3 separate regions of the Homo sapiens genome follow, and regions 1 and 3 are each linked to region 2. The links are contacts of gene promoters, found by promoter capture Hi-C in human tissues and cell types (Jung and others, 2019). All regions are on one chromosome and are shown on one strand. Each heading gives the region's core, a stretch centred on a gene start or on the middle of the fragment in contact. The rest is flanking DNA. Distances are from core to core; before and after follow the strand shown. Region 1 overlaps TSHZ2 (teashirt zinc finger homeobox 2). Region 2 holds the start of BCAS1 (brain enriched myelin associated protein 1). Region 3 overlaps LOC105372671 (a long non-coding RNA gene).

Region 1 (2,700 bases), core at 152-2,651, 850 kb before region 2:
CAATAATCTGATTGGTGACACCTTTTGATTTCCCAATGTCAATAACTAATTCCTATTTTGTTTTTAAATATTCTGAGTCAAACTAAATATGTATGTGGATCCACATTTGGTTCAAATTTACCAGTTAGACACCTCTAATATAGTGTTGACTCCTCGATTTTGCAAAAGGAAACTGGAGATCTGTCAAGGGATACTCGAAAAACAGAGACAGAGAGCTAGCATTCACATCCACACCATTGAACAAGCTAAGGTGAAGCCTGACTGTGAGATAAGACAAGAAAACCACTTTCCTCTGAAATGAAGAACAATGAGGGCTCTCAGATTTTTCCTTACCATGACCCTTCATTCTCAGTGGAAACCCCTTCTTAACCTCATTATCAAAATAACGCATTTAGCTAACTTGCCATGAAGGAACAGATTTTAAACTTTCATTTTTCTTGGAGGAAAGTCTTTGGGGTAATTGGAGCAAAAAGCTACTAAGAGTCAGTGAATATTTCAGAATGAAAAAATGAAGAAGGAGCTAAGTCACATACATACACACGTTCATACACACACACTTGTCTAAAGGTGGGGCTTTAAGAGTTTGAGCACTGACTTGGGAAGAATTAGCCTCACATCTATTGAAAGCTCCCTGTTGATGAGAAAATTCCTCTACAGGGTTACTGATTAAGGGCCAGTTTTTTTGTTTGTTTGTGTTTTTTGTTTTTCTCCCATGTCAGGGTTAGCTCATGGGCCAACCTATTTTTATGGACACAATTTTATTGGGACACAGCTGTGCCCCTTTATTGATGCATTGTCTATGGCTGGTATCACGCTAAGACAGCACAGCTGAGTCGTTGTACCAGATGCCGTATGTACCACAAAGCCTCAAATGTCTACTATGTGGTCCTTCACAGAAAAAGCTTGCTGACTGCTCCCGGATGTGAGGGGCCGGTCATGCATCCTGTGGCACCTTGTAGGGTATTTTGTGAATGAAGGACTAAGAAAATGATAATGGGTACCAGGAATCAAAAACTCAAATGATTATAGAAAGAAGAAAAATTAAACACAGCAGGCCATGAGAAAACTGTTGTGAACTGGAGTGCTTGTTCTGCATCTCAAGGTGACAGCATCTGCTAAGCTCAGAGATTGCCATCTGGCAGGAATGTAGACCCAGTATTCCCAAACCTTCTGATTCATGAATGATATGGTTTGGCTGTGTCCCCACCCAATCTCATCTTGAATTTCCCATAATTCCCACGTGTTGTGGGAGGGACCCAGTAGGAGATAACTGAATCATAGGGGTGGTTTCCCCCATTCTGTTCTCGTGGTAGTGAATAAGTCTCATGAGATCTGACGGTTTTATATGGGGAAACCCCTTTTGCTTGGCTCTTATTCTCACCTTGCCAGCCTCCATGTAAGACATCCCTTTGCTCTTCCTTTGTCTTCTGCCATGATTGTGAGGCCCCCCCCGCCATGTAGAACTGTGAGTCCATTAAACCTCCTTCCTTTATAAATTACCCAGTCTCAGGTATGTCTTTATCAGCAGCATGAGAATGAGCTAATACAATGAGCACTCATCAATCTGGATTTTCATGTGAAATCTCAATTTTTTAAGTGTTGGTAACTACATTTAAAAATAAATACTGTGGGTATCTATAGGGGCCACCTATTTTTGTTATCTTCTGGGTCAGCAGGGAATGTCCTTATCTTTCTTGTTTCTGATCAGGCTACAGGAAAATGGATTGCTAGAGAACAGAGGTTTTGTGACGGAGTGGTATAAGAAGAAATCTGATGGCCAAGGGCTTGTTACTGGGTCTGTTTCAAATGCCAGCACCTTCTGTGTCTGCCTTCAGACAACACCAAACACCTAAATCATCTTGGTAAACACAGATAGAAAGAGACAGAAAGGTTAAAAGTATACTCATAATCACTTGCTTTTTTTCCCCTCCTAAACGTGTTTGAGAGCAATATTGTTTCGTAAAAACAAAATGACCCCATTTCTAAAGCAATATTCATGCTAAGCTACTCAGCTGTTAAGTATAACCAGCAGTTTGCATTATGATGAAGCTAAGCCAGAATTTCAATTATTTTCTGGACACATTTAAAATTATAATACTTTACTGGGTTAGTGTTATAGTTCATTCAAATTACTCACAAACTATCATATCAATCTCTTGCAACTGCTAATGCCTTACAGATGCGTGAAGTTAGGCGAAATAAGAAACTGACCAGGGTAATGACTTTCATACTGGCATTGTATTTTAAGGGATACATGTCCCTAAGTATTTGGATGGCTAATGGTCAAAAGCTAGCTCTTACTTCTTATAATATTTAGGCTAAAAGATATAAAAAGAGGATAGAGACCATTCTTTTTCCTATTTCCAGGAAAACATCTGGGTCTGTACAAAAATTCCCAGCAGTCCACTCTACCCCTCCTCCCCACAAATTTTACCTCTTCTGACAAATGACTTTAGAATTCTGTCTCCAAGTACCCAAGGGTGGCATTGCTTTATTTTCTCCCTCTGGGACACTGTTGCCACCAACCCTTGAAATCTTCAACATTCTTGCCTCTCTACAGACACTCAGCTTTCAGTGGTGTACCTCAATGCAGACCAGCAGTGAGAGCAAAATTCATCAAGTGCAGGTCCAGTTAATCGACAAAGATTTATGAATGTCACCACCAGCAGGTGCTTAAAATGTGGATCTTCCTGAAGAAGG
Region 2 (2,700 bases), core at 99-2,598:
GGGAACAATGTAAGGGACACCAAAAAGCTCAGCCATGGAGATGAATAGTATTTTAACATGAAATTTGTGAAAATCAAAATTACCGCTGTTCCTGATCTTATCTTTCTGTAACATGTTCATAGTTTGTTCATCACGGGTGTCTTGCCATTAATTCTGACTTTTAAAAATGTTGTGTTAACATACCGTTTATCTCCATGACTGAGTTTTTTGGCATCCCTTACATTTCGTGCCCAAGGTGAGAGTCTCACTGGCTGCACCCTCATCCCAGGCCCGACTGGACTCCAGTTCCACAGCATCCTTTCCATGAGACCTGGAACCAGATGCAGCTCCCTCTTCACCCAGCTTCATGTTCCTAGTTGTAAAATGGAGACGATGGTAACAGCGAAAACAAGAACCACAGCTAAGAGTTACTAAGTGCACAGGTATTTACGGGCAGTAGAGTCCTCTCAGCCCTTTGATCTCAGTACTGTTATTAGGTTCACTTTACAGATGAGGAAACTGAGGCCCAGAGGGCTGAGGGAACCTGCTCCAGGGCACCCAGCCAGCCCAGGGTGGAGCTGGGGCTGGCATCTGGCGGTGTGGCTGCAGCGCACCCGCATTCTAATCGCAATGACTCTTCCAGGCAGGAAACTGGTTCAGAGGGAGATGTAAACAGCAGGGGTCCTGAAGCCAGGATTTGAATCAGCAGCTGCCTCATAGGGTGGTCTTGAGCGTTAAATAAGATTCACAAAAGGCACTCCACAAGTCCTTTTTCTTGTCCTCCCACTTCTTTAGGCAATGCCTGAGGTGAAGGCTCAGATTCCACTCGGCTATGGGGCATTCTTGCCCTGACGGATCCCCAAATCACACAGCCTATCCCTCCATCCAGTGACTTCTCCCCATGTCCTGTGCTTGAAATGACCCTCAATAGTTCCACCAAATAGGAGTTATTTATGTGGCTATGCGCCTAACACTGACCACATTGTCATTTGCTCCTTGTAAAACTAAAAACTTTGAGATGAGTGCTATCTTTGGGTCCATTTCACAGATAGTGGAACTGAGGCTTACACATATCCAAGGCCACACAGTGAACAGAAGGCAGAGCTGGGATCAAACTTGACCCTGTCTGACCCCTGGCCTCTATATGACACCGTCTACCACAAACAGCAAACCCTCCAGCCATGCCTAAAGGATCTGAAAGCAGTTACCTGCTGAGCCCCTGTGGGAGTATCTTCAGTCCCCTCGTGTCACCCGGAGCTGCTCCTGCACAGGGTCCTGGGTCTCCAGTGCGTGCTGCCCAGTGCCTGGCTGTCGGTGGAGCCTGGCTCCCTGCACTTTGCTTCCTTGTGCAGAGCCTGCTGGCTGAATACACAGAGCAGGGCAAACACAAGCCTGGGTGGAGTCCTCCCTTCTCCCCGGACCATCCTGCAGAAACAGGTTCTCTTCCTGATGTGGGGCTGCCCTCCCAACTCCAATAAAAACTGAGCACCTGACTCCTCTCGCATTAATGCCTCCCTGGCACCCCAAGTATTCTACCCAGTGCCCCTCACCTACTGAGGCTGCCGGGTTGACCTGGGGAAGCAGTTTCCTTCCCCAGTAACCGTAGGTCATGGTCAGAGCAGGGAAAACACGTTCTGTGAGATTTTGTAGTTCTGTCTGCTGACTTCAGAACACCACCTCCACCACCACCTAACCACCTAATTGGAAGGAAATAGCTTCTCATCCACTCAACTACCCCTAGTCATGTAAACCTTATTCCCAAAGGGGTTTGGACACCAGAAATCAGGTAACCTGAGGGTGGTTTATTGCTCTGGAGACATACCATGATGTTGGAAAGGGCATTCTTTTTCTTTGCAGGCCAGAAATTCGACAGGCTATGCAATTTATTTAATTCAAGCAAGGATGTTGTTTAAAGTGTCTTACAAGGACATATACAATAGATTATGAGAGCATGAAATAACATGTAACAAAAGAAGATTGAAGAACAAAATTTGGAACATCAAATGAGAACAGGATCAAAAATAAATGCTCTTGTTGATTTACAGACTTGCTATGAAGGGTTTGCAGATATGGCTTTGAGCTTCCTAACAGCCAATGCAAGAAAGGAAACTTGATAAGTTACACTACTTAGTGCTCTGGAGAAGACATTCAAGAGAATTGCGACCAATAATTATTGTGGTTTTATTCAACAGTATACTCAGCTTAACCCCTATCATGAATACTTGTCAAGCACCAGGCTATATATATAAGCCAGAGTTTAAAGAGGTGAGTAAAAGATGCTGGGTCTCTACCCTTCTTGCACTCAGTGTCATTGGACATAGAATCCTGTAAATATAAACATAGAATTACAGGGTGTGATTCTCATTATAAAAGAAAAGCCAAGGCAGCTAAGGGAGAGAAATAGAGAGAGCTGGGGAAGGCCTCTTTCAGAAATCAACATTTAAGAAAAAAAATACTATTTAAATAAATGCTGAATACACAACCAGGCACACCGTAATTAGGGTTGTAAAGTCGATTCCAGCTCAGCACTGTACATGTCAATCTGGAATGTAGTAAACCCAATTATTAAGCAGCTGCCATGCACACGCTCTGTGCTGACCCAAGCCTGGAGGCTCAGGAGCTTGAGCTCTGGCCCTGGGTTGAGACAGACAAGGGCTCGGATCTTGATTCTTACTGATCGGCTGTGGAATTATGAGCAAGCTACTGTACTTCCCTAAGTCT
Region 3 (2,700 bases), core at 129-2,628, 550 kb before region 2:
CTCCTGGCCTCAAGTGATCCTCCAACCTCGGCCTCCCAAAGAGCTGGGATTACAGGGGAGAGTCACCGCGCCTGGCCTCTTTCCTTCTTAATAGCAGACTCTGACTTTGTTCTGGTTCATTCCTCCCCTGTGTGCCCCAGGCAACCCAGAAAGAGCTGAGACTAATCCCAGCTCTTCCTCATGTGGCATTTTCCTGGCCATTGTTCTGAATGGGTCACATGCTTATCCCCGAACCAGTGACTGGCGAGAGGAATATGACGTTCTGATTACCAATCCCTGCATCCCAGGTCCACCCCTGGACTCAGGGTTAGAGTGAATTCCACCAGAAGCCCATGAGCTGGGCTGGGGAAATGACAGCCTGAAGGTCAAAGCACACCTTCCCTTCTATTGCACAGCCTTTTCCTGTCAGAGAGAGACTAAGCCACAAACAGAAATAACCTGTAAAGAAAGTTTTCGGCTGGGCATGGTGGCTCACGCCTATAATCCCAGCACTTTGGGAGGCTGAGGTGGGTGGATCACCTGATGTCAGGAGTTCGAGATGGGCCTGGCCAACATGGTGAAACTCCGTCTCTACTAAAAATACAAAAATTAGCCAGGCGCAGTGGTGGGACCTTTAATCCCAGCTATTCGGGAGGCTGAGGCAGGAGAGTCGTTTGAACCCAGGAGGCAGAGGTTTCAGTGAGCTGAGATGGTGCCATTGCACTCCAGCCTAGGCGACAAGAGCAAAACTCCATCTCAGAAAAAAAAAAAAAAGGAAGCTTTCTTGAGAACATACAATGTGCCAGGCACTACACATGACATCCACTGTTACCAGTGAGCCCATGTCATGCAACGTAAATCATTTTATCGTCAATTAAAAAGATGAAAACTGGGCCGGGCACAGTGGCTTACGCCTGTAATCCCAGCACTTTGGGAGGCCAAGGCAGGCAGATCACTTGAGGTCAGGAGTTCTAGACCAGCCTGGCCAACATGGTGAAACCCCATCCGTACTTAAAAAAACACAAAAATTAGCCGGACATGGTGGTGGGCACCTGTAGTCTCAGCTACTCAGGAGGCTGAGGCAGGAGAATCGCTTGAACCTGGGAAGCAAGGGTTGCAGTGGGCCAAGATTGCACCACTGCCCTCCAGCCTGGATGACAAAGCAAGACTCCATCTCAGAAAGAAAAATTAGAAAAAGATAGACTGGATAAGAAAATGTGGCACATATACACCATGGAATACTATGCAGCCATAAAAAAAGAAAGAGTTCATGTCCTTTGCAGGGACATGGATGAAGCTGGAAACCATCATCCTTGGCAAACTAACACAAGGACAGAAAACCAAACACCGCATGGTCTCACTCATAAGTGGGAGCTGAACAGTGAGAACACATGGACACAGGGAGGGGAACATTACACACCAGGGCCTATCAGGGGGTGGGGGCAAGGGGAGGGAGAGCATTAGGACAAATACCTAATGCATGCAGAGCTTAAAACCTAGAAGACGGATTGATAGGTGCAGCAAACCACCATGGCACATGGATACCTATTAATAAACCTGCATGTTCAGCACATGTATCCTAGAACTTAAAGTAACATAAAAAAATCTAATTGTATTGCACATATCTAATTATCTGACAATTCCACCTCTAGGTACCTACCAAGAGAATTACTCTCACATGTGCACAAGGAGGTAAAGCGAGGCTGTTTACAGCACCACTGCTGGCAAGTGTGGAAAATTGACAACAGGAGGCAGGTGAATTGGTAGAGGAACAGGTGCAGGTACTGCATTACAGATTGTTCACTGGCTGAGTTCAAGGAGGCTATTCCTCAACATGGGATAAGTCTAGAACTACAAGCATGAACTCATTCCCTATACATAATGTTAAAAGTGAAAAATAACCAAGTTACAGGAAAAAAGTGGGAAGAGAATGAAGCTATTTGTATTTTTTAAAACCTTACTTATCTATGCAATGCATGGGAAAACATCATGAAAAATACACATCAATTCATAGCAAGGATTATTTTCGAGGAGGGGACAGGACTGGGCAAGGCAGGGAATTAAAGGATTACTTTTGTTTTTCTATATTATTGGAAAGACTTACAAGACTCTTCACATTTTCTTGGGAAATTTTTGTAGTAGGATGAGATAAGACTCAGTTAAAAGGAAGACCGCCATTTGGTGAGTGATTCAAAATCTTGTTAGTTCAGATTTCCCTGAAAAAAAAATGCACATTTTGCACATTTATTTAAAACTGTGCACTCAGGGGATTCACAGATTCACTGCTAGTTGTCCAAGAGACCCAGTGGCCTCCGGTTTAACACACCTGCAGTGGAGAGAAAGAACATGGTAGATTAACCAAGACCCCGAATTATCTGCTGCGCGGCCCATGGAGAGGTGGGATCTAATTCTTCCTTTGAGTACAGGCCAGCCTTAGTGATTGGCTTGCCAATGGACCACAACAGCAGAGGTGCTCTGGCCCTTCCGAGGCAGGTGTCAGAAGCGTTGCTTGCTGATTCTGCAGGGGACCCCTGGAAACACTCCCTCCGGGGAATCCAGCATCTGTGTGAGGAGTCTGAGGCTTCCGTGACGTCACCATGCTGGAGAGGCCACGTGTAGGAGGCAGTCCCAGCTGAGCCCAGCCTGGCAGGCATCCGAGCTAGGGCCCCCAATAGTGAGTGCAGCCACCTTGTATCTTCCCAGCCAGCTCATCTGCCAGCT

What was found. The method cuts DNA at HindIII sites, captures the fragments that hold promoters and counts their contacts. A contact is called where the count stands out against the background at its distance.
Region 1: a contact is called between a fragment that was not itself captured here and the fragment with the promoter of BCAS1 in region 2, in 1 of the 25 tissues and cell types used here (lymphoblastoid cells).
Region 3: a fragment that was not itself captured here is called in contact with the fragment with the promoter of BCAS1 in region 2 in 1 of the 25 tissues and cell types used here (dorsolateral prefrontal cortex).

What each region holds. Positions count from the first base shown.
Region 1 is chr20:53,219,777-53,222,476 of GRCh38, forward strand. All of the region lies in intron 1 of TSHZ2 (teashirt zinc finger homeobox 2), which reads left to right. Among named protein-coding and RNA genes, the nearest start is that of TSHZ2, 250 kb to the left of the region's middle. The HindIII fragment of the contact is 3,752 bases long and covers 1-2,700 here.
Region 2 is chr20:54,069,246-54,071,945 of GRCh38, forward strand. It overlaps BCAS1 (brain enriched myelin associated protein 1), which reads right to left and starts at 1,349. Exons shown (of 13, transcript NM_001366298.2): 1 at 1,188-1,349. RefSeq lists an enhancer at 68-942. The HindIII fragment of the contact is 15,029 bases long and covers 1-2,700 here.
Region 3 is chr20:53,522,571-53,525,270 of GRCh38, forward strand. LOC105372671 (a long non-coding RNA gene) reads right to left here. Exons shown (of 4, transcript XR_001754720.2): 1 at 2,306-2,700; 2 at 2,084-2,195. Among named protein-coding and RNA genes, the nearest start is that of TSHZ2-AS1, 20 kb to the left of the region's middle. The HindIII fragment of the contact is 7,259 bases long and covers 1-2,700 here.